Linked DNA regions of Homo sapiens: regions 1, 2, 3, 4, 6 and 7 are each linked to region 5. Evidence: promoter capture Hi-C in 16 types of primary human blood cells and fetal thymus (Javierre and others, 2016). All regions are on one chromosome and are shown on one strand. The core of a region is centred on a gene start or on the middle of the fragment in contact, and the rest is flanking DNA. Distances in the headings are between cores, read along the strand shown. Region 1 overlaps MBNL2 (muscleblind like splicing regulator 2). Region 2 overlaps RAP2A (RAP2A, member of RAS oncogene family). Region 3 overlaps IPO5 (importin 5). Region 4 overlaps IPO5 (importin 5). Region 5 holds the start of MIR17HG (miR-17-92a-1 cluster host gene). Region 6 has its middle 7.9 kb from the start of RAP2A. Region 7 has its middle 9.6 kb from the start of MBNL2.

Region 1 (3,432 bases), core at 108-2,607, 5.9 Mb after region 5:
TAATGTGTGTAACATATTAGCAGGGTTATGCAAGAATAATATTTATAAAGTAACCATCCTTAGTGGTTGTTTCTGATCTAAAAAAAAACATTCTGATAAGAATGTATGATCAAAAATGTTTGGAGAGGCCAGTGGTCAAAATCTCAGGAAGGAGGAATAGCATGATGTGGTATAGTGGCCAGGAAGGAACCTTGACCTTGGAGATGGAGATGAAGTGTTAGGGTGCAGTGGGGAATAAAGTTAGATGGAGGGGGTGGAGTCAGGATATGAATGAGCTGAAGGGCCCTGTGGAAGAGTTTAATTTCATTACCTATAACATCACATCTAATGCTTTATAAAGATTCAATTGGGACTTGTAAGATAGGGTTAGAGGTCAGAACATTTGTAACTAGTGATGTCACCGGCTAGAAAACTTTCACAATATTCCAGGTACAAAGTGGAAAAGGGTTGCATTAGCATGACAAATGAAGGAGAAAGGGCAAATCCAAAAGGCATCTTGAAGGAAAAATAATAGAACGCAGTGAGAGCTTAGAAGAGTGAAACTGGGCCAGGCACAGTGGCTCACGCCTGTAATCCCAGCACTTTGGTAGGCCAAGGTGGGTGGATCACCTGAGGTTGGGAGTTTGAGAGCAGCCTGACCAACATGGTGAAACCCCATCTGTACTAAAAATAGAAAAATTAGCCGGATGTGGTGGCACATGCCTGTGATCCCAGCTACTCGGGAGGCTGAGTCAAGGTAATCCCTTGAACCCAGGAGGCAGAGGTTGCGGTGAGCTGAGGTCACGCCATTGCAGAAATTCTAGGAGGAGTGATATCAATGGTACCCTGACAGAAATGGGAGTGGTCTGAAAAAGGGACCAATAAATGGGAATAGGGTTGAAGGAGGGTGGGCGATGATGAGTTTTTAGACTTGAGAATGGTGTTTTTAGCTAATGATGAAACATCTAAGTGGAGATGTCTCATAAACATTTGACAATGTGGGAATGAAGAACAGCCTGGACAACAGGCTACAAATACAAGCTCAGACACACCTGTGTTGAAGCCGTAGTTGAAGCCATTGGTGCTCACACCTCGTGAAAGAAGGCAGCGTGAACAGAGATAGGCAATGACAAAGGATGAATCTTGGGGAACATGGCAAGGGCCCAAAAGAGAATAAGAGCTAGCAAAGAATCAGAAAAATAAATACCCACAAAGGAGCAAAATTGTTTTTAAAAAATGAACAACCAATACTATTAAGCACCATAGCCTAATCTCCAGGATTCCATAAGAAAACAGTGTAGTCTCCTGGGTTGAACTACTCTCCTGCACATAGCTTTTCCTCTCTGGCAAGGGTTTCTGGCTGTGGTCCTTTTGGGGCAAATATTGGTTCAGAATCTTGTTTAGAGCCACAGAATATTAGATAGTTAAGGGAACCTTTGTAGCTGTATCTCTCGTATATACAGTTGACTTTTTAAAAGTCGATCTTCACTAATAAGCAGAGAGAGTATTTAAAAACCAATAATTATCAATACTTCTGCATCCATCTCTCAAAATGTATATATTTTGGGGATGTTACTGGTTAGAACAGTAATTCCAGAGTGATTGGAGATATCACTTGACACTTGTCATCCTGTTCTCAAAGACCCTGGGGATTCATTTATTTCTGATTCTAGCAGTTCTCAATTGAACCCAGCCATAAGGACTTCTCTGAAGAAAATAGCCTTTCATGATGAGAAAGTACTTGAAGTATGCAAATAGATTGATGCCGTCACACCAGACACCTACCATAAGTAACCAGACAGCACTTCTCAAACTCTCATGTGCCTGCGAATCACCTGGGGATCTCATTAAAAATGTAGACTCTGATTCAGTAGGGCTGGGCTGAGGTCAAGATTCTACATTTGTAACAGGCTCCAGGTGATAAAGCTGATGTTCATCCAGGAGGCTCCAGAATACAATAGCTGCTTTGGAAGTGTCACTGCCACAATGTGAGTGGCAGCAGATCACTGGGTCTGGGATGGCTCCTTGGAGGATCTTCTGGCAGTCTGGAGACTGGGACCTACCTCCTCCACACAGCAGGTCTTTCCAGGCTGTTCAGCCTCAGAGTGAAGCTGAGGTTGAACTGATATATCCCACCAGCCTTGCACCAATGTGGCTGGGGCTGAAGGCATGAAGCCAGGGACTTCAGCAGCTGCAAGCAGTTCTGTGACTACACACAGCCTGTCTCTGGCTATCTCCCCATTCCCGAGACGTCTATCTTCTCAGTGGACACAGACTCTCACAAGTTCCCCAAGAGATTTGGTTACTGCCTCCAGGGAAGGCTGTTGTGTTTATCTGTCTGCTCCAGAGTTGTTTTTTTTTTTATTATCCTAAGGAATATATGCATTATAAACCGGCCTTAGATTCCTTTTCTTCTGGATGGTGGTCAGAACTGGAGCCCAGAAGTCTGATGTGCCTACTTGCATCCTCACATCCTTGGTGAATTAGGTCCAGGAGCTCTGACACATTCATTCCCTAAGATGTAGATAGCGCCATTCTCTCCTCCTCATCTCCAAAGAATGTGAAGGATAGAGAGGAAGGGTTATATGCCATTAACATCGCATTTATTTAAAAAATGCTAGTTTTAAAGTCTTGTAATAGAAACGAAGACATTATGAGAAGAGACAGCTGTCTAACGAAGTAGCTTAAGTGAAATGCCCAGGCCTGATTGTTGAGTCTCATACCTTGTTATAGGTCATCCATCTCGTGCCCCTGTCTGTCCTCCCTCCTTTCAGATGCCTTGTTTTCCTGTGTGTCCCACATGTGGCCCCCTCTTTCCTAGAACCAGGAGTCAAGCTAAACTGATTTAGAGGAAGTGTTCCCTACCCAGATGCTCATTTAGTCCACACACAGATGGCCGGTATTTTTATGCATTTTTAATTTACCAATAACCTTTTAGGAATGAAACAGAACTAACATTTATTGAATTTATTGAGCACTTACTATATGGAAAGTCCTCCTCTGCTGATAGCTTCCTGTATATCAACTCAGTTAAACCTTTTCATGAAGAAAATGAAGCTTAGAGAGACCAAGTTACTTGCCAAGGTTACAGAATAAGGGGTAAAACTCAAGATGGTAGGATGGAAACATGCAACCCTTGTCCACCAGTTCTTACTTGGGGATTGCAGCAAAAAGGGTTTGCTTTAGAAAAACTTCCCCGACAGTTGTAAGTACTGTTAGTGGAGCTCACTAAATAGTTAAATAGACATAAGCAATTACTGGCATACTGTGCAGGCATGAGTTCAGTTTTAGCCAGAAGTCCCTCCTCACAAAGGGACTTGGTATATTGCCAAGGATAGCTAGGGCATCATCTCCACTATTTGCTGTGATTATTTGTCGGCCTTTTTCTTACTCTTGACGCTATGTGTGTGTGTGTGTGTGTGTGTGTGTGTGTGTGTGTGTGCGCACGTACAC
Region 2 (3,619 bases), core at 594-3,093, 6.1 Mb after region 5:
GCCAAACAGAATATTAAAGTTAAAAAGACTGACAATATGAAACAAACAATATAACTAGTAAGTCAGGATGAGAGGAGGGAAATAGTTATGAGTGCTCACTTCATCTTTCATGAGAGGGATTTAAATGGTCAAAAAATTGAAATTTGTTTTGAAAATGACTCGAAGAGCTCAGTGTTTTTCATGATCTTTTTTTCTTTAAAAACCACTTTATTGAGGTATGATTGATGTACAAAAAGCCAGACATATTTAATGTGTACAACTCAGTGAGTTTAGAGATAAGCATACACTTGTGAAATCACCACAATCAATGCTGTAAAACTATCCATCACCTCCAAAAGTTTCCCCCTGCTTTATTTATCTATCCATTCATTCATTCATTCATTCATTTTTTTTGTAGTAAGAACACAACATAAGTTCTGTCTTCTTAGCAAATGTTTATACAATACAGTATTGTTAACTAGAAGTACTATTACCATACAGATGTCTGGGACTTACTTATCTTGCATAACTGAACTTCATACAGTGAATCACTTTATGTGGCCCAGAAGTTTTTCCTGAAAAGGAAACTTTTGTTTTGGCTGCATTGTAAAATTACAGGTTACAGTATATAGTTTTCTTTTTGCCACTCCAGGATTGTAATTTTTAAAGCTCAATTTGGAGTTGGAGGAGATGATGTCTCTTCCTCTCTAACATTCTGTGAGAGCACTTTTGTCTGGCCGGGGTGATGAGGGAAGGGGTCAAGTTTAATATGAACCTTAAAGAATCAGCAGCCTGTGACCCACAATTTTGTCTAGTTAAGATTTGATAATTGTATCAATAAAATCTACAATAAGGAATAATTATACTAATACTTATTTTTTAATGGAGGGCAAAAATAATTTAAATTATTAAACATTAAGGAAGAGGTAGAGGAACTAAGAAAAATCACTGGATTTCACAGCCAACAGGAAGAGCCAACAAAGTTGGAATCTATTTGCTAAAGTTTCAGTAGCAATATACTTGAGTGATTTAATTTCTGTGTGTGAAGTTCTGGGAAATTACATATGGCACAATAAGGTGCATATATTATGCATGTATATGTACATATTTTTAAGCAAGGATCTTTACATAAAACCAAGTACACTGTACTTAAGGGAATTTTTTTTCAGGGGTATTTTTTTCTTTTCAGTTCTCTTTTAGTCATTGTCTTTAGAACCTTACTGCCTAGGGGAGCATGTATGCCTTACTCTGGGGTTTTCTTTGCTTCTGTTTTGATTTTTCCCTGTTTTCTGTTTCTCTCCATCTATTCTTACCTACTGTTTTTTTACACACTTATATTTTTCAGGCCTATGTTGTAAAAAGAGTTTTAAGTACTCTAAGTTTTTTTGGAGTAATAAGAGTTTGAATACGAGCAGACTTTCAAACAAGGTAAAACTGATGGTGACTGAATAGTTACTAAAGGAAATGTATAGATATTGTGTTTATGTAGGAAATTTATCTTGAAATTTTAATGGTGTGCAGAAATATGCCATATATTATATATTGCCATTTCATTTGTTACTTTGACACTTGTGGTTCATATCATTAAAAATTATTCTCAGCCTGACAGAGAGAAGTTTAATTTCTTAAACATCCTTTCTGCTTTACCAGATCAAACTCAGCCTTTTAGTAGAGTAATATCAATAATAGTAATGCTGTAATTGTGGACATCTGCATTTCAGTCAAGTATGTTAAATAAAGCATAAATATATTAGTAAAATTTAAAGTAATCAAAATAACTAAAAACAATATTTGAAGATTCTAATACATAATCTAGCTAAGATTTTGTCATGGTATGTATTAAATTCTTTCTCTGGCATAATTGTATAGATGGGGATTTGTTTTTGTTTTTTATTTCTCTAATACATTTAAGATTTTAAAACATACCAAAATTTATATTTAGGGAGAAATAAGGTGACTTATAATTTTTATTTTTAAATTGTTATCTGTCAAAAAGCCAAATATTGGAAAAAATTAATAACTATCTCTATTTTTATAGATCCACTCAGCAGGGGATTTCACATTTTCTTAACCAGGGCCCTCAGTAAGAAGTACATTTTATATTGTGACTTAGTGCACACATAGGAATAAATACATCTAGCCGAAATCAACATTTCATAAGACAGTAAACTTGCTATGTTGCTTGTATTACTTTTTCTATTTATTTTTTTCTATTTTATTTCGTTGTTTTTAAGTGCTTTTCATGACCCACCAAATTGATTTTATCACACATAGCTTGGAAACTGCTATCCTAGGACATTTTTACTCTAAGAAAACTAAATGTAACTATCTGTTTAATATTTCATCTTCTCTCTCCTGCTTTTCTGGTTCCCAGCAATGCTGTGTAAGATTACGAAAATGAAGTACTTCCCAATGTGAGTTAGTAAATACTACCTGTAATTCAGAGAAAGATAGCATTTAGTCACTGAACAAAAAGATATAGCATATCTTTTGAGAAAGCATTTATCTCTGTTGTGCATATTAGAAATATGAGAATGTATTTCTCATGTAATGTTGTTCATTCTAGTAATTCAAGATAACTTTTGCCTTGTGAAAACTTAGAACAGAGAAAGGGAGGTTGTGGTAGTATTCAGACTTGAATACATGAGTGCGGGATTATCTATTTCAAGAACAGTTGCTGAGGAGGTTCAGAAAACTCAAAATAGAGGTCTGCTGCATCTATCCAGGATAACACTGATTCACCTCTCCCTGTAAGACAGTAAAACTATAAATATCTTAAAATCACTTAGTAAAGTTACCCAAGAGAAACATTGAAAAACCTTTATTTAAAACATTTAGGAGTGTTCTCATGCTTTCCTGACCCTTAGAAATTAATAATTCAAATGTGGAAATACTATATTAATAATTCAATGCATATTAGTATTTTCTCTACTAAGTATCTTTACAGCTCTCTCTCTGTAAATGAAATCTTAGAGTATTTTAAGAGACAGGGTCTTGTTCTGTTGCCCAGGCTGGAGTGCAGCGGCGCCATCAGAGCTTACTGCAGCCTCTAACTCCTGGGCTCAAGCAACCCTTCTGCCTCAGCCATCTGAATAGCTAGGACTACAGAGCAGGCACCACCGCATCCAAGTAATTCTTTAAAAATTTTTTCTAGAGATGGGATCTTGTTATTTTGCCCAGGCTGGTCTCAAACTCCTGGCCTCAAGTGTTCCGACTACCTCAACTGCCCAAAGCACTGGGATTACAGGCCTGAGCCACTGCCCCTGGTCCTAAATTAATTCATCTTTAGGTTTCCAATGAACATTATGAATACTGTATGTATTATAATTCTCGAATGGAGTATTTTATTGTATATACTTATCTTCTCATCCATGAAGACAGCGAATGTTAATCTCATTAAAGCTGAGATCCAGCACTTATTAGTTATGTAATTAGGAGCAAGTTGACATTCCTTGCATTTTAATTTCCTCATTTGTAATATGAGTATGATGTAGTAACTCGTGAGATAACGAACGTAAAGTGTTTCTTTACATAGTGAACCTAAAATATTAATAATAAAGTTTCACCAAGAATCACAGAAATAGGAATGAAACCCAGCCTTTTATCTGTATACTGCCACGTGACTTCTTAGGAATTAGGC
Region 3 (3,275 bases), core at 644-3,143, 6.6 Mb after region 5:
TGTAGGTGTAGTTGGTTTATCTTATTCTTTGTCTTCCATTTATTATTGATCTATCTAGTTATCCTATCCGTTACTGAAAGGTGGGAACAGAAGTCTCAAACTATTTTTGTTGAATTATCTATTTCTCCCTTAATTCTGTCAGGTTTTGCTTTATGTATTTTGGTGCTGTTAGGCACATGTGTTTAAAACTGTTCTATCTTCCTGATTGAATTTTTTATTATAAAAATGTCCTCTTTATCTCTAATGACATTTTTTGTCTTAAAATCTATTTTGTCTAAAATTAAGAGAGCCATTCCACCTGCTTTTGTTTTTTTGTCTTTTTGAGATGGAGTCTTGCTCCGTCACCCAGGCTGGAGTGCAGTGGCACCATCTCGGCTCATTACAGCCTCTGCCTCCCAGGTTCAAACAGTTCTCGTATCTCAGCCTCCCAGGTAACAGAGTACAGCCGCCTGCCACTACACCCAGCTAACATTTGTATTTTTAGTAGAGACGGGGTTTCACCATGTTTGCCAGGCTGGTCTTGAACTCCCGACCTCAAGTGATCCACCCACCCTGGCCTCCCAAAGTGCTGGGATTACAGGCGCCTGCCACTACGCCTAGCTAAAGTTTGTATTTTTAGTAAAAACGGGTTTTCTCTATGTTGGCCAGGCTGCGTATCTGCTTTTGAATACTGTTTGCATGGTGTGTCTTTTTCTATCCTTTTACTTTCAACCTATTTGTGTTCTAAGAAAAATCATTTAACTTAGAAATGAAATCTTTCTGCTAAGTATATATATATATATATATATATTTTTTTTTTTTTTTTTTTTTTTTGATACGTAGTCTCGCTCTGTCACCCAGGCTGGTGAGCAGTGGCGCGATCTCAGCTCACCGCAAGCTCTGCCTCCCAGGTTCACACCATTCTCCTGCTTCAGCCTCCCGAGTAGCTGGGACTACAGGTGCCCACCACCACGCCCAGCTAATTTTTTTGTATTTTTAGTAGAGACGGGGTTTTACCGTGTTAGCCAGGATGGTCTCCATCTCCTGACCTCGTGATCCGCCTGCCTTGGCCTCCCAAAGTGCTGGGATTATAGGCGTGAGCCACTGCACCCGGCCTCTGCTAAGTATATTTTTATTTCAGGTATTAAAATGCAACAAATGATTTTTAAAAATCCATTTACCACTTTTAAATGAAAACAACATCAAGAAAAGGTATTTTTATTTTCTCCAACTCTTAACCAGTCTTTGATTTAACTGATAAGGATTTATTCTTCAAAATCAGATGTGATTTTTAAGAATATCATCTTCAAAATTAAGTACCATCTAATGGTCCACCATTCTGTTTCTGTCAAATCAGCAGAGGAAAGAAATTCCTAAGGGAACACTGCTCAGAAAGTACTGCAGCATGTCTTCAAATGCCTGAGGATCAAGTTGGAAAACTAGAAGCAACAGAAAACACAATAAGGTAACTGATTTCACCTGGGGAAAAGTCACTTCCTGTTTTGTTTTTTTTAAAAGAGACAAGGTCTCGCCATGTTGCCCAGGCTGGTCTCGAACTCCTGGTCTCAGGCAATCCTCCCACCTCAGCCTCCCAAAGTGCTGGGATTACAGGCGTGAGCCATCACACCCAGCCAAAAGTCACTTCCTAAATGTCAATGTACAAAGTATGTAGGACACCTATGTGTAGCTAGTTGGCTATTTTATTCTCCAGCAAAGCACTGCCCAATCGAAATATAATATGAGCCACAAATACAAATCACATATGCAATTTTAAAATTTCTAGTAGCCATATTTTTAACAAGTAAAAAAAAGTGAAATTAATACATTTAACAATAGTTTATCAATAAATATAACTATTTTATTTAACACAATATATTAACATTTCTACATGTGACCAATATAAAATTGTTATTCTTAATTTCCTACTAAGTCTTTGAAATTTACTGTGTATTTTACACTTAAAATATATCTCAGGCCAGGCTCAGTGGCTCACGCCTGTAATCCCAGCACTTTGGGAGGCCGAGGCGGGTGGATCACGAGGTCAGGAGTTCGAGACAAGCCTGGCCAAGATGGTGAAACCCCGTCTCTACTAAAAATAAAAAAAAATTAGCCGGGCATGGTGGCGGGCGCCTGTAATCCCAGCTACTTGGGGGGCTGAGGCAGGAGAATCGCTTGAACCCGGGAGGCAGAGGTTGCAGTGAGCTGAAATCGTGCCACTGCACTCCAGCCTGGGCGACAGAGTGGGACTCCGTCGCAAAAAAAAAGAAAAAAGCATACCTCAGTTCAAACACGCCATATTTCAATTGGTCAACAGTCATAATGGCTAGTGGCTACCATAATGAGCATTGCAACTGTAGCATTGAAAGCCAGAAATAGCCTTTAATAGCTCTGTGATAATCAAATCAAACTTGATTTTTTTCTTAACCACAATTATGATGCATTCCTGTAACATGACCACTTATATAATGAGAATATAAAAATGCAATAGTCTAACAGGTAGATGTCCAATCAAAATTAAAGTTACAAATTTTAGAGGTTGCAATCTGTATTAGCAATCACAGCCACTATCTATTAAGCATTTACTCTGTGCCCGGCACTACTGCCAGGTATTTTAATCAGTAGTAAAAAATACTTCTATTACACCCATTTCAGAGAAGAAGAAACTGGGCTTGAGACAGGTTACCTTGGGCAAGATCACACAGCATGTAGGCTGTGAAGCTATCATTTGAACTTGCACATTGGCCGGCTCTGGAGCCTCTGCTCCCAGCCTCCCTAAAATGAGTCCCTCCATCTGCAGATATCCACTGAATCTCAAATATAAAACTAAGAAAGGGCGCAAAAGAAAACAATCAAGTCAAAATTTCCCTGCCTGTGTTCCATTCCACAATTTACTGAGGGCCTATTGTGCACAGTGTCCTTCAGGATTGTTAGGGTCCCACTTGCCCCTGGCTGAGGTGCACTGACTGTATGTAACAGACTGCTTCAGAGCAGGAACTTGAAAGTTTTGATAAAAAGCAGTTGAAAAAAATGTGAATATTTCAGCATATTTTCAATAATTTTTCAACCATTCAAACTTTTTTTGCTGGCTCTTATCTAGGCAACAGAAAACATCAGTATTAGAGTCAGAAATCTTACTTATCAGCCAAGTGTCTATTGAATATCTGTAATCCATTCCATACACTATTTCACTCTGCACAATTGGGAGACTAATAGAAAATACGCAAGTAGATTTTATATAAACACAAATGTGATGCACATGACTATGCATCAGCTGCAGCCTTAAGAGTAATTACTTG
Region 4 (3,603 bases), core at 930-3,429, 6.6 Mb after region 5:
GAACTCCTGGCCTCAGGTGATCTGCCCATCTCGGCCTCCCAAAGTGATGGGATTACAGGCATGAGCCACTGCGCCTGGCCTACTATGTACATTTTTAATGCCCAAAAAATATTTTTTTAAGTGAGGTAAAAGGCAAACATCATAAAAAAATGCATTTTACTAAAGGTAAAAATCCTTTTTAGTCAACTAAAAATAATAGTAATGTAATTGAACATGCTACTTTTTTATCTTGCTGCAAAAAGCTTTATTTCCATTTGGTCTAGTGCCTGGGAGAGGGCTCCAGCTTGGTTAAAAAGCTACCTAATGGCTGGAGGGAGAGGGTCAGGCAGAAGCTCTGATACATTGAGGGGGACCCTCAGAGGTCACTGGGCTTTTAGTGTTGTTTGATGATGAGCCTTTTGAAGAGACACTTGCCCAGCTCAACATAGGAGCCAACTAGCCTGCGGAGGTTGGTCACGTGGTCACCCATCTTAATGAGTTTCACTTCCTCATCTAGGAAGTGGCTCTCCAAGAAGTCACAGAGATGGGGATCTGTGCAGGCAGAACCCAGGGCATGAAGATCCAACAGGGCCTGGTTCCTGGTACAAGTTCTTCTCCAGGGCCATGACAGCTTCCATGGTGTCTTGGGTTTTGTCCCACTCATCTTCATACTTCCTGCTCGTAGAAGAGAGTGTAGCCACCACTTTTTTTTTTTTTTTAGACAGGGATTTATAAGTGTGGTTGTAAGCGCAGCTTGTTTAGATGGCATTTTTAATAGTTGAAATGAAGATCAAGGTTACATGGGAGATTACTATTGATTGAGCTTACTACATTATGACACTAATTTTAAAATCTCATCAACCAGTAATACAGTAAGTCCTTGTTCAATTCAGCTAGCAGATTGTATCCTTTCTTATGTCAACCATTTCTTAGAAACTAATGGGGAATGTGTCAATTCTTTATATTTTAGATGAGTTCAAATTAATTTTTTTAGACAGTTTTGTTCTGTTGCCCAGGCTTGAGTACAGTGGTGTGATCATGGCTTACCGCAGCCTCCACCTCCCAAGTTTAGGTGATTCTCCTGCCTCAGCCTCCCACACGCCCAGCTAATTTTTGTATTTTTTTAGTAGAGATGGAGCCAACTGGGTTTCACCCTGTTTGCCAGCCTGGTCTCAAATGCCTGACCTCAAATGGTCTGCCCACCTTGGCCTCCCAAAGTGCTGAGATTAGAGGCATGAGCCACAGCGCCCAGCCCTAATTTTGAATATTTTTAAATTGTTTAGAAAATTCTACTTTCCAGTTTTAAGTATGCAGATAGGAATTGTTATAGGTGACATCATTTCTCATTCAGAAACACTTAACAATGCAAACCTTTCCAAAGTATTCAAAGTGCTCTCATAGATTTTTTTTTTTTAAGCTGCTATTTTATTTCCCCTCAAAGCATCATCTTTAGGTTGAAGAAACATTTAATGTCAGCTTAGCAGCACAATTGTCATTTCACAAAAGTTCAAATATCGGGGGACGTTTAAAAAGAAAACATCTGTAATTCATCTGTAAGTTGTATAACTCTTAAGGTCTTTGTGACAATATAACCAGAGTCTTATAAGTGGCACAGTAGATTTTTGTGGTCACTCATTTTTATTATAAAGTATTATTTAAAATCTCTTAATCTTGTTAAATAGTAAACATATTAATAACATCCTCTGGCACTATTTGAACCAAACTGCAAAGTGTGAGCACCCTGTATGGGTCCTGAGATTCTAACCCTGATGTCTTCTCAAGTTCCAAAGTAGTTGTTACTTTGGTTTCAAGACCTTGCCACCAAATACTAGCTTTGCCTACTTTTTCAACTCTTTAATAGCAATGGTATATATAAAGGAGTCAGTCAATCAGATATTTGTACAGTTAAAAGTGCTGCCTTCTCTTCAAATTCCACTCCTTAGAAATAACCTCTGCCAGCCAGGTGCGGTGGCTCACGCCTGTAATCCTAGTACTTTGGAAGGCCAAGGCAAGTGGATCACCCAAGGTCAGGAGTTTGAGACCAGCCTGGCCATCATGGCCAAACCTCGTCTCTACTAAAAATACAAAAATTAGTCAGGCATGGTGGCAGGCGCCTGTAATCCCAGCTACTCGGGAGGCTGAGGCAGGAGAATTGCTTGAACCCTGGAGGCAGAGGTTGCAGTCAACCGAGATCGCGCCATTGCACTCCAGCCTGGGTAAAAAAGTGAAACTCCATCTAAAAAAAAGAAGAACCTCTGTTAATATCTGATTATCTAACCCAAATACAGAGTTGTTTGGTTTGTTGGTTTGTTTGGTCTTTTTTTTTTTTTAACATGATTGTGATGCCATTTTTATGGCTAAAGGACAGAATTTTGTGGAGTTTTTAAAAATAGCAAAAGTGACATTTTTCACTACTCCAGGTTTGAATGAGGCTTATGAAATGAAAGGATTTACTCCTAGTATATTGAAGTTCTGACTTACACAACTTTATGTCTGGATTTCTTTACTTTCAGATGAGGATGGCAATAACCAGTGGCCCGAAGGTTTGAAGTTCCTTTTTGATTCAGTCAGCTCTCAAAATGTGGGACTGCGGGAAGCTGCCCTTCACATTTTCTGGTATATACATTAATCTAGTTTTTTGAGACATTTGATTTAATGAATGCCCTAAACACCTTTTAACTGATTATTTTAGCCTAATTTAACCTTATACTTAAAATGATAATAATGCCTTTACATAAGTTTTGTTTGTATTTGTATTGGAAGCAATTTTTTTTAAAAGGGCCTTTTATTTCACATTATGATCTTTTTTGTACACAAAGGTTCTCTACAGCTTGCTTGCTTTCTCTTTGTCTTTTATGATTCTGAAAGTTTTATTGAACAGTTTCCTCTCCTTTATTTGGAGATTAACACAATACTGGATGTAGCTTTTCAAAAGCCACATTAATAATGGTGTCTTGAAGAGGAGAAGGAGAATGCAGGTGAATCCCCATTATGTTTTCTGGGTCTTGTGTGACCCAATTTTATAATATGTTAAGAAACCTGTATATTTATAACCAAATAGTCTAAGTTTAGAATTAAGTGATTATTCTTTGCCCCACTGTGCTATATTTTTTTACTACACCTAAAATGTGCTCAAGATCATACACATTTTAGGCTTTGTATCATTTTGTACTTTAGTTGTCATATATATCTTTGTTTATATCAGTAATTCAGATTAGAGAATGCAGATGGCCGGAGAGCATAGTTCTTGTAGTTTTCATCTGAAAACCTGTGGTTGCTCTTGTCCCATCCTGCACTCCAGGTCAGCTTTCGACTGAGACAGAGTAATAAGGATAAAAGCATGTAGCTGGGAATGGGCTGCTGAGTAGCCTCTACTCCCAGCCCAGACTTCTCCAGTATGTTTTCATTCACTTAACCCAAAAACAGGATTGCTTAGAGAATGGGTAGATGATGTTCAACCTATGGATTAATGCGTACTGAGTCAGGTAAACAAACAGTTCATTAGAGATTCTAGCTCATACTTTACCAAGATATTAATATAATGTAGTTTTTAAAGAATGTTTGGATTATCTTTTAGGAACTTTCCTGGAATTTTTGGGAACCAGCAACAACACTATTTAGATG
Region 5 (3,476 bases), core at 348-2,847:
TAGTCACAGAAAATAGTTGCTTGTATGTCAGATTTCCACAGAAATATAGTGAGATACCTAAAAACAGCTTTTTAAAGCTAGTAGTATTTCAATGTTGACTTTAATTGGAAGGAAACTATGAGATGAATAACTCCTGCTAAGAAACCTGTATATAGGTGGGATTTCCCATGATTCAGAGAGTGTGATGAACAATCTTACTCACAACATCCCCCCGCCTCAACCATTCTAATTTGAAACAGAAGATAAAGTTTTAAAGAAAAAGGCATTGACATATTAGTCAATGCCGACCAAAAGTAACGTAAAATTAGACTTGTAATAAAATTAGCAGTGTTTTCCTCTTTGAAACGTTCATAAATGACTATATTACAGAAATATTAGATATTGTAAAATTTCAGATTTGGCCTTTTATTTTGATTTACAAAGAAAGGAATATCTAGAAACTAGACTCAATAAAAAAAAGAGTAGCAAAACTTTAATCCACTATTTTTTATGTCATCACTAGTTTGACAATTGGATTTAAGCAAAGCATGATAAAATAAGTCAAAGACAGTAAATGACAATACTGTCAAGGTTTGAATGTCAAAAATTTTAACATTGGGGCATTAAAGACATCCTTTGGTAATGTGTGTTTTACAGTTGACTTGTACAATCACGAACCAGTGATATGTGCTTTGCAGTAGCTACTTACTAGATTTAAACCAATTTATAATTGCTGTATTTCTCGTAAATGTTATGAATCCTCACTTTTAACAATTATGTTTCTGAGAATTCCGGAATTTCCTGAACCACAATGTGAAGAAGGAGGTGCTCCTGATTGGGCTTCTTTTCTCAGCTTTGTGGTTGTTTATGAGGTTCTTTCCGAGCTATGCTATTTCTACTGGAGAACCCAGAGTTCTTACTAAATGCAGCTGGGCATGAGAGGGGAGGCTCAGGTACTGCAGCTGTGAAACCTCTGCTCGGGCATGCGTTTTGGTTTACACGCGGCCAGGTTAAGGAAACACATTGCCACGAAGTGTGCATTCACAAGAGTGTCGGGTGTAATGTATTTATTTCTGGGTCTCAAACGATCTTTGCAGCGAGTAATTCTGTTTCGATGTTAAAGTCACTGGATTTTACTTCTCTGGTTCCGGTTGGCCTGGAGCAGGCCCCTAATTACCTCGGAAACCCACCAAGGGCCGGTAAAGTAATAAACTGTGATCGCACAGCGTACACGTCGAGTCCCAGGGAGAGCAGGGCTCCCAGGAAGCCCCGGGAAGCGTGCGCTTCCAGGAGGGTGTGCGGCGCGCGGGGGTCTGCACGCGCGCAGAGCTTGTTAACGGAGGGCGTGCCGGAGGCGTGGCGCGAGGTGTTCGGGCGAGGCGCTCCGCGAGGCTGGCGGCGGTGGGCGGGCCACGGGGGAGCGCGGCCCGGGGAAGGCTGCGCGGCGCCGCCAGCGGCTCCCGGCTCCCGCTCTCCCGGCCGCCAAGAACGAGCCGCCGTGGGCGGGGCCTGCGGTGATTGGCGGGCGGGCGGGGAGGTCGGAAGTACTTTGTTTTTTATGCTAATGAGGGAGTGGGGCTTGTCCGTATTTACGTTGAGGCGGGAGCCGCCGCCCTTCATTCACCCACATGGTCCTTCGAGGTGCCGCCGCCGCCGCCCGACCTGCGCCTTCGCGCCACTTCGCGCCCTCGGGCGAGGCCGAGGGGGTGGGGACGACTACCGCAGCGCCGCCGGGGCTCGCGCTCCTCCGCGAAGCTCTCCTCGCGGGGCGGGCCGGCCGGCCGCACCCCCGGCCTGGGGCCTCCGGTCGTAGTAAAGCGCAGGCGGGCGGGGAGGCGGGAGCAGGAGCCCGCGGCCGGCCAGCCGAAGATGGTGGCGGCTACTCCTCCTGGTGAGTCTGCCCGCCCCTCCGGCGACGGAGGGAAACCTGTTGTGTGCGGCCCGGGTCTGGCGGGCGGGGCGGAGCGGCCCGGGGCGGACTGGCCCGGGGCAGCGTGGCGGCGGCGGCGTGGCCGGGGCGGGTCTCGGCCGTTGGCCGCCCCGGCGTGTGGCAGCCGCATCTGGCTGCCCCCTCGCTCGCCCGCGGGCCGGCGGAGGGGGGCAGGGCCGGGGCGGGAGGGTGGGAGGGGGCGGCGTGCGCGTGGCGGCCGCGCCCGGGACCCGCGCAGACCCTGCCTGGGCCGACCCGAAGGCGGGTGGGCGGACGGCGAACACAATGGCCCCTCGGGGAGAGGACGTGCGAGGCCCGTGCCTTCTCCGGGGCCCGGGGCGCGCGCGGGGCGTGGGGTCTCTGGGTAGGAAAGTTTCTCCCGAGGGCGAGAGTTAAAGCGCCTCCAGAACAAAGCGGCGGCGGCGGCGGCACATGGGGCAGGCCGCGGGCCGGGAGGGGGCGCGCCCACGAGGTACCTGCGCGCCAGCGGGCGGCGTGGCGTGGGCGGGAGCCCGCGGTTCCCCAAACTTTGTACGCGCGAGGGTGGGCGGAGGGGCGCCGAGATCGGCGCGGCCTGGGCGCCACCCCCGCTCCGCGTGGGCTTTGTTAGCCCGCGTGGGCAGCCTCGGGGCGGGGCCCGCAACTTCCCCGCCGTGGCCCTCGGAGGAGGCCGCAGTCGGCCTCAGCCGCGGCGTGGAGCCGCCTGCGCCCGGCCGCTTGCTGGGAGTGTGGCGCGGGAGGGCCAGCCCGGCTCGGCGGGAGCGGCGTCCCCGCCGCCATGTTCCTGCGGGGCGGGCTGCACGGGGGTGAGGGCGGGGGACATGGCGGCGACTGCGCGCCGCCGCCGATTGTTCCCGGCTTAGGCCTCGGGCCGCGTGCGACGGGCACCGCGGCCGCGGAGCCCCCGCCCCTCTGGGCCGGGCTCGGGGGGGCTGGGGGACACAAAGGAGGGGCGGCGCGCCCGCGTCCCCGCCGCACTCGGGCCTCGGCGCCGCCGGTCGCCGCGCGGCTGCCGCCGGGAAACGGGTTGGGGGGGTTGCCGCGTCCGGCGGGGCCTGACTCTGACCCGCCGCCCCCTGGCGGCTACGCGGAGAATCGCAGGGCCGCGCTCCCCCTTGTGCGACATGTGCTGCCGGCCCGGGCTCCATGAGCGTGGCGGGCACTTTGCAGTCTCGGGTGTTCCTGCCCGGTCTTCTGTTCCTAAACTGCAGCAAAGGGAAAAGGAACTGAAAAAGGCAGGCTCGTCGTTGCAATATCACCAAAAGAGAAAATTAACGGCATGCCATCAGGACCACAGCAGTTGGAGAAACAACTCTTTATCCCGGCTTGCAGCCACGAGGTCTTGATTGGGGGAGGGGTGGTGAAGAATAGTCTGTGGGCTGCTTTTTTTTTTTCCTTTTACTGGAGCTGTACAGTGGAGTCGGTGATTGCTGCTGATCATAATCAAGTATTTTAGGAGCTTATTTAGACATGTATCTGATAGCTAAGGATTTTTCAACTTTATTCTCTTACGTATTTTTCAACTGTAAATTATTGGGCTTTTAAATCCTGCTAGTATTGCTCGACT
Region 6 (3,602 bases), core at 137-2,636, 6.1 Mb after region 5:
ATGAGACCCCATTGCAGTTCTTGTGAATTAAAGCCTATATTACTGTTTTATGAAGAATAATACTGTTTAAAATTTCACATTGTTATGATTTCATATAGTTTAGAGTTTCAGTTCAAAGTTGAAAAACACCATTGATTTCCCTTCAATAGAGAGAATCATTTGATAATTTGAAAATTAAGCATACTTTTCATAACATTTAATGTTTTATATTTAATCCAATTCATTCAGCATTTATTGAATATATACTATTGACTAAAGCATAATAAAGATTAGAAAGATGAAAAAACTTATAGATTCTCCACCCTCCTCCCCATCAGACATCCATGAGTCCATATACTAGCTGAAATCACAAAGATAAATACAATGCAAGACAAATTGCAGTACATATGAGAAGAAAAGTATAACATTTTTGGAAAATATGGTGAGAGATTAGTTTAAGGAAAACAGGGGGAGGTGGAATTTAAGTTAAATTCTGGATTTGGGGTAGGCCATCTCATTAGTCAGTATCCTTGGTAAAAATTTCCAAGATCACCAGTTACTTTAAGTGTGACTTTTACTTCAGAAAACACATAGTATTGTTAAATTGATTTTCAACCCAGAGGCAAGTCAGAATCATTTAGAGGATTTTGTTCAATATACACATTCCCAACCCTCCTTCCCCCAGACTATTCACTGATGAGACTTGGGAAGGATTTGGGCATTAACAATGCTCCCCCTACCCCAACCCTAACACACACAGAGCCAGACAAAGTGTGAATGCCAAGGTGAAATCTATTTAAAGAGATGTACACCAATGTGCAACACAGTTTCTGAAAAAACTTATTTTGAATAGATAATGTTAAGGTTTCTTGAAACAATCTATTTGACCCTAAAACTGGAAATGTATTAATATAGATCATTTTTATTGAAGGTTTTCTTATTTTTATTTATCTTGTATGTATTTATGAAATGTACTTTAGTCCTTCTGGAATCAAGTGGAGGAAAAAAACAAAATAGATATGTTAAAATAGAGATCATAAGACTAATGGAACAGACTCCTTGTGGCAATAAAGTACCAAATAATAAATGAGACCTAAGGCCATGCCAGAAAAAGCTGAAGTCACGTACCCCTACCCTTATAGAATAAACTATGCTCTAATTGCCACAGGTTTTTCTTATTCTCTAGCAGCTAAACAAGCACTGGCCTCAAGATAAGCAGTATTGAAACAATCGTAGCTCACTGAGCACCAGATGCTGACTAACTGACCCCTCTGTTCCACAAGCCACAGCTACAGCTTTGATTGGATAAAAGACTGATTTCAGTAACTTTCTCCTGATAAGAGACCACTGACCATCTTCTGGTTCTGTCTGGTTTACAGAGGCTGAGCACTGAGTGCCTTCCTGTCCCTGCTTCACCTTTTGACATATAGGGCTTAATTGGAATGCATTTAAATGTGAAGTCTGCACCCCAAAGTGAACAAGGGATGCATGTAACATCCATGTTTGCTTACTATTCATGCACATGCCCCCTCTTCATGGATATGTATAGCTCCTCCTACAATCTGTTAAATAAATATACTTGGCCAATCCATTCAGCATAAATTCCTATCTCATCCTCCCTTGAATAACTTGCTTTTGGTCTCTGCCTGAGGTTACACTTCCCAGCCAGTTAGGATGGCCACCCTGCTGGCTGCAACTCTTGGTAAGAAATAAAGCTCTCCTCTCCAAATTTATAGATTTCATGATTTTAAGTTGACAGGTAGATGGTAGACATTGAAACAGAGAGCTAGTTAATGTTCGCTATTTCTATGTTTGTGAGAGCCAACATTTAAGGAGTATTATACAAAGCATGGTTAAATGTCTTACTAAGCCTCAGCCCAGCCTCCACCCTATCAATCACATATCCAGATAGAATCCTCGGGCTTAAGAGAGTCTACAGCCCTAATGTAAAGAGCAGCACTGAGCACTTTGAAACTCTGCAACTTTAATATAAAAATCTTAAGAATCATAACCTTACAGCACCACAATTTGTCCATTTTAGTTCCTTTCACTTTGTCAGTGTGCAGTATAGAACTGACTTAATCCATTCCAGCTTTGAAACTAATTGTTGCTTATATAATTTAATTACATTGACAGATTAATATTTCTTAGGTAATTTACATGCAATGTTGTATCTTTTCATTGGAAACATTAGTTTGCATGGAAAATGGCCAAAATCTTTATTAAAAACCTAACACCAGAGACCAGTCCCCAAAAGAATGTAATCAAGACAAAGTATAAAAAAATACTTTAACTTTCCTTGACTACCTGGTACACCAAGGAAATAAAAAGGCTTACTATTTCTGAAATGTCTCCCTCAGCTTCTCTCATTCAAACGTAGACTCTGATCAATTTCACCATCAATGCCATTGCACAGAGACAGCGCTTTGACTAAGTAAACAAGACATCTTTTTCAACTAGTGCAGCCCAATGAATGTGGTTAATAATTAAGTGACTAATATTTTGTAAGGCTGTGTGAGAAGCATTAATTAGGATAATAGTAAAAGATGGTGTACTGTTCTGTGAAAAGCAGGAAACCGATTTTTGAGGAGATAATTCTAGAGAGCAGGATGAGTAACTTCCCTTGACAAGATAACTGGATGGCTGCTGAGAAGAGTTGGATGGTCCTTACACCATAACTCTGCTCTGTCTTCCCCAAGATGCCTCCAAACCATTGCTGAACACAATAATGTGAGAAGCAGAAGAGAAATGGAAGGAATCAGACAAGGCATGCAGCTTCAAAGTTTAAAAAATTCTTATAATCTCATAAAAATTAAAAAGTATTTGAAATAAGTTTAAGAATCTAGTAATTGTAAAGGCTGTTATTTTTCTTGTTACACCATGTGGAGTGATTAACCTTATTGAAACAAATTAATAAGTGTATGACAAAAATACAGTGGATTTCCATGGCCTTCTTATACTCGCTCTGGGCACATACTCATGCCATGACTTATCCCCCAATTTAAACTACGTTCTTCTATTTTACTTTCTTCATTTTCTTTTTCATCCAGGTAAGCATAGTTGCATGCCCCGAAGTTGACAGACTGATGGTACAATTTAACTGTATATCTCCTACTTACATTTTAATTGGAAAAAAATAACTTTTACATCAAAAGACTAAAACCTAAGTGCAGAATTTCAGACAACAGTCAGTTGATAGAAGACATGATTTTTCAGATCTTTCCTGGCACTCCTAAATTCCAGGTCTACAAACTGCCATTGACTTTGCCTGTTGGAGACTTACTGTTTTTGAGATACAAGCTTCTTTGGAGATTAGACCAACTTTGGAGGACATTTACATCAACCTCACCTTGATTTGGGGAAAATCCTTATTCCTTTCCTTTTATTCTCATCTTCTCTGTGTTCAAAACCCAGGGTTTTTAGAAGCAACATTATAGTCCACTCAATTGCTCATTTATTTACAAACATTTTATGAATTCCCACAATTGTTTTTAGGCGATGTGCTGAATGCTGGTAAAGCAAAAATGAACAAAGCACTGTCCCTTTCCCCAGTCACTGGAGAAGACAGTGCAATCATGTGTTATTGGTGTTAAGACAGAAGTCTGTTCAGGGTTACACTTGGG
Region 7 (3,708 bases), core at 299-2,798, 5.9 Mb after region 5:
ATTTCTGGCTGCTGTGATTTAGTGACTTGGGTATATGGGATTTTTGTGTATGGAGAAGAGGGGTGGTGAAAGGGTAGCAGGGAGAGGAAGGCAGGGGTTGGGTGGGGTGAGGGAAGGGGTGAGGTACATAACATTTGATGCATGATCTGACACCCTATGAGAATCCTCATTGAAATTTTGAGGAGCCACAAACTTCCAGGGAGTTAAAATCTTTTCTGTCTTTTACAAAAGTAAGCCTTGTCTTGCTGTCTGCTTCCTCATCTTCAAATAAGAAGCTAGGGTGTAGATGAAAGATTTCTTCTAGCCCTAGGATCCATGATTGTAAGCTCACCATAATCGTCTCAGGATTGGACTGCTTTGCGAAATAAAATCATTCTATTTGTAAGTGATTAGGCTTGTTGGAGAGGTTGGCAATCCCATGGGTTGGGGGTATAGAGCAGGAGTGTGTGGGCCTGAGCTTGAGAGAGACGAGGGTTGCAGGCAAAGCTGCAGCAAAAACTGGAGTAGAAAAAGCACAATTCTCATTTTGTTTTGCTGTGGAAAAGGGACCTGCTAACAGAGTTCAAGATTAGAATGACTCAGTGAATATTTAAGTATGGTTATTTCTTCCTTTTTCATTAAGCCTTCTAAATGCAGAGATCTATAAAGCTGTGGCTTGAGATTTTAGAGAAAGAATGCAGTGACATGAGACCAAAATGATGTGAGGTGATGACATCAGCATCAGAATGCTGTTGCTAAGGTGAGCCTGTTTTTCTCTCTAATCCAGCTGGAAGGCAAAATAATTGCCCATTTCTGGTAAAGAATATACCCATGACATGATCCCTTTTCTGTAGCAGATAAAACAAAGCCAGATGCCTTCTCTTTGCACAAATTATTTTAAAAATAAAGATTAAAATTTCATTATAAAACATAGCACATGTCCTTGGGAGAATAGGCAGAACATTTTACGTAAGTTTGAAATTTTAATTTATCAAGACTATATGCCGAGATCTAAATGGATATCGGAATGAGTTAGTGTGATGAATCTACTGGGAAAGAGATAGCAGTATTTTGGATTTAGGGAAAGGGGAGATGGGGAAATATCTAAAGGTGTCAAAGAAAGATCTCCAAGCTTATGGTGGCTGATAGAGGGAAGAGAGTGAGGAAAGTCCTGGATTTGAAGAAAGACAGGCAGAAGCCACCGTGCTATGGCTCTTGATAATGGTGCCCTTTGTACAAAGAGAACAGTATCAGTGGAATTCAGAAACAAGGGGTGGGACTCAGGCAAACTAGAGGCCAAAGTGGTTGCATGCAGAAGTCCCTCCCACATGAACGTTTTCCAGAATTGCTCCTGGGGTTTGAATATTCTGCTTGGAACACACTTCTCCAGAGATTTCTATTCATTTGACAGTGGAAACACACTCCCTCACCCCTACATGTCTCTGTTCAGAGGGCGCTTTCTGCATGAGCCTGTCCTGGCCCCACGGTAGAAGCCACAGCTACCCCCACAGTAGAAGCCACAGCTACCCCCTCCCAGCTCCACCTGATTGCCTGATCCCCTCTACCAGGCCCAAATTCTCCTTTTCCTTTTACTTTTTTCTTTGCACTTAGCACCTTCTGATTTGCCATATAATTTTTCTATTACATTTAGAGCCAGTGAGGTGTCGCAGTAGAGAACATGGCCTCTGAAGCCAGCCTGCCTGGGGCAAATGGGCTGCACCACCTGCCAGCTGTGCGACCCTGGAAAGGTTACTTAATCATTCAGGTGTTTTCCCATCTGTAAACCTGAGATAATAATAGTGTCATGGATTTCACACAATAGCATTGTGCTTGACTCAGTATAATCACTATGTACATATTTAATAAATAGATGTCTCTCTTTGTCGTCAACACTATGTGAGCACCCCAGAAGTGCTTGTCATGAGTAGCATTTGATGGAGGAAAGAGATGAGTAACACATTTTCCAGAAATTGATGTTTTCGCTGAAACATGGAATTTAGACAGGGTTAAGCTTTGGAAGGGTAGTTATGCCCATAGGTCACTAGACAGCTACCAAGGGCCCTCTACTGGTCAGAAAAACCCGGGCAAATCTTCTCTAAGATTTGCCTGAGGAGAAAGGCTACTGTGAAGATCTGGTCCAGACAGGAGATCCTGGAGCCACAGGGACTTCCCAGATAACCATGGTTGTGAGAAACAAATAGAAAGTAGCATTGAGGTGTGCTAGATGCCTCAAGTTAGTAAAGCTAAGGACCTCAGTCAAGTAAGAACATATAGCATCAAATAAAAGAGGTTGAGTTGAATGAGGTTGAATAGAGGTGACAAAGAAAGATCTAGAAGCTATGGTTGTTGACAGAAGAGAGTGAGGGAAGTTCTGAATGTGAAGAAAGATAGGCAGAAGCAGAGATGGACACGGTCTAATGAACAGGAAAAAAAAACCATTTTACCTGGGCCAGAGTTTTCCAAAATAAAACCCCCAAGAACACCATACTAGTTAGATTTCTTTTTTTAAGTAAAAGAGCCTCTGGTAAAATTAATTCTCAGACACAGTGAACTAGAAAACCCCGTCTTGGAAATTTGCAATGCACATTCCCAGAATCAAGGCTCTGAGAGGTCCTTCGGTAAAAACACACATTTAATGAGTGATTTCAACGGTTTCCAAACTTAGCCCTGGGTCCTTTTCTTCAGAAACATTTGAGATGAGTGCCCAGAGATCTCACTTTGGGGATCATGTGAAATAATGTGAGATTCTCGGGGTCCCATCTACATCTTGCTTATCTTTACATCATGAATGTTTCAATTGGGACCAACATGTAGCAAGTCACGTGATAAACCCTAATCAGATGAGTGAACAAGTGGATCTAGGTAGGGTGGTGATCCTAAAATAAACAGAAAGAGATGGAGAGGGGAATAGGAGCACTGACAAGTCTTTCCTTCAGGAACGGTATATTGTAGTAAATCAAAACCAGTTGCATTTAATTTTTAAAGTCAAGATTGTCATCACACTACAATAACACACATGCTATATGCTTCATCTATTCCCCACGTCCATTCCATACTCCCTGTTGGAGATGACAATGTCTTCATCAGGCAGCAGGCTCACATACTTCCACTGCTACAGAGACTCCTACAATCTCACCACAGTCTTGTGCTAGAACCCACCCACTTCTGAACCGTTGAAGAACAAGTTACGTTATTCTCATTCCATTAAAGAAAAGGTTATTAAAGACCCTTTGATTCCATTAAAAACTCTTTGTAGGGATCTAAGCTGCTCATCAAGCATCAAAGAAATAGAAAATCCTGATTCTGCCATAGCATACACTATTTGGTGACACCAAAGTGATACTCTCAATTGGTAGTTTTGACTTTTCGACTCTTTCCTGGTTTTTTAAAACTTGGCTTTAATGACCCTTGGAAGTCCCTTAGAAATGCCACATTAGCTTTGATCCTTGGCCTTGTGTCTCAAACCCAATTTCCTACTCATCCTGTACCATATTTCAGTCCTGCTAAATTTTGTTTAACAAATATTTATTGTCAGTCCCATATGTTGGGTACTGGACAACCAGTAATGAGTATCAAGTAGATTATAAATTTTGACAAAAGGCAGTAAATGCTCCAGAAACAAAAGGAAAAGTATAGCACATGAGTGTATGTCCTTCCATCCGATAGCCACTGGACCCATGTTCAGCCTGGCCCCTCAGTCAGAAGGTGGGCAGAAGGTTATAGACAGAA

What was found. The method cuts DNA at HindIII sites, captures the fragments that hold promoters and counts their contacts. A CHiCAGO score of 5 or more calls a contact.
Region 1: a fragment that was not itself captured here is called in contact with the fragment with the promoter of MIR17HG in region 5 in 1 of 17 cell types (total CD8 T cells); the score reaches 5.2 in total CD8 T cells.
Region 2: a fragment that was not itself captured here is called in contact with the fragment with the promoter of MIR17HG in region 5 in 1 of 17 cell types (fetal thymus); the score reaches 6.5 in fetal thymus.
Region 3: a contact is called between a fragment that was not itself captured here and the fragment with the promoter of MIR17HG in region 5, in 1 of 17 cell types (M0 macrophages). The highest score is 5.4, in M0 macrophages.
Region 4: a contact is called between a fragment that was not itself captured here and the fragment with the promoter of MIR17HG in region 5, in 1 of 17 cell types (naive CD8 T cells). The highest score is 5.5, in naive CD8 T cells.
Region 6: a fragment that was not itself captured here is called in contact with the fragment with the promoter of MIR17HG in region 5 in 2 of 17 cell types (activated CD4 T cells and naive CD8 T cells); the score reaches 7.2 in activated CD4 T cells.
Region 7: a contact is called between a fragment that was not itself captured here and the fragment with the promoter of MIR17HG in region 5, in 1 of 17 cell types (non-activated CD4 T cells). The highest score is 6.0, in non-activated CD4 T cells.

What each region holds. Positions count from the first base shown.
Region 1 is chr13:97,229,471-97,232,902 of GRCh38, forward strand. The region is part of intron 1 of MBNL2 (muscleblind like splicing regulator 2); the gene reads left to right. Among named protein-coding and RNA genes, the nearest start is that of MBNL2, 8.9 kb to the left of the region's middle. The HindIII fragment of the contact is 3,354 bases long and covers 1-3,034 here.
Region 2 is chr13:97,440,444-97,444,062 of GRCh38, forward strand. All of the region lies in intron 1 of RAP2A (RAP2A, member of RAS oncogene family), which reads left to right. Among named protein-coding and RNA genes, the nearest start is that of RAP2A, 8.1 kb to the left of the region's middle. The HindIII fragment of the contact is 7,461 bases long and covers 1-3,619 here.
Region 3 is chr13:97,968,387-97,971,661 of GRCh38, forward strand. IPO5 (importin 5) reads left to right here. Exons shown (of 29, transcript NM_002271.6): 3 at 1,337-1,444. Among named protein-coding and RNA genes, the nearest start is that of IPO5, 16 kb to the left of the region's middle. The HindIII fragment of the contact is 4,000 bases long and covers 1-3,275 here.
Region 4 is chr13:97,986,570-97,990,172 of GRCh38, forward strand. IPO5 (importin 5) reads left to right here. Exons shown (of 29, transcript NM_002271.6): 7 at 2,493-2,595; 8 at 3,557-3,603. It also overlaps the pseudogene FTLP8. Among named protein-coding and RNA genes, the nearest start is that of IPO5, 35 kb to the left of the region's middle. The HindIII fragment of the contact is 3,878 bases long and covers 241-3,603 here.
Region 5 is chr13:91,346,090-91,349,565 of GRCh38, forward strand. MIR17HG (miR-17-92a-1 cluster host gene) reads left to right here and starts at 1,598. Exons shown (of 3, transcript NR_197388.1): 1 at 1,598-1,870. RefSeq lists enhancers at 1,087-1,166, 2,636-3,183, 3,184-3,476 and silencers at 1,267-2,046, 2,097-3,086. The HindIII fragment of the contact is 6,871 bases long and covers 1-3,476 here.
Region 6 is chr13:97,424,501-97,428,102 of GRCh38, forward strand. No RefSeq gene overlaps it. Among named protein-coding and RNA genes, the nearest start is that of RAP2A, 7.9 kb to the right of the region's middle. The HindIII fragment of the contact is 3,782 bases long and covers 1-3,277 here.
Region 7 is chr13:97,210,909-97,214,616 of GRCh38, forward strand. It overlaps a transcript of MBNL2 not described here. Among named protein-coding and RNA genes, the nearest start is that of MBNL2, 9.6 kb to the right of the region's middle. The HindIII fragment of the contact is 879 bases long and covers 1,110-1,988 here.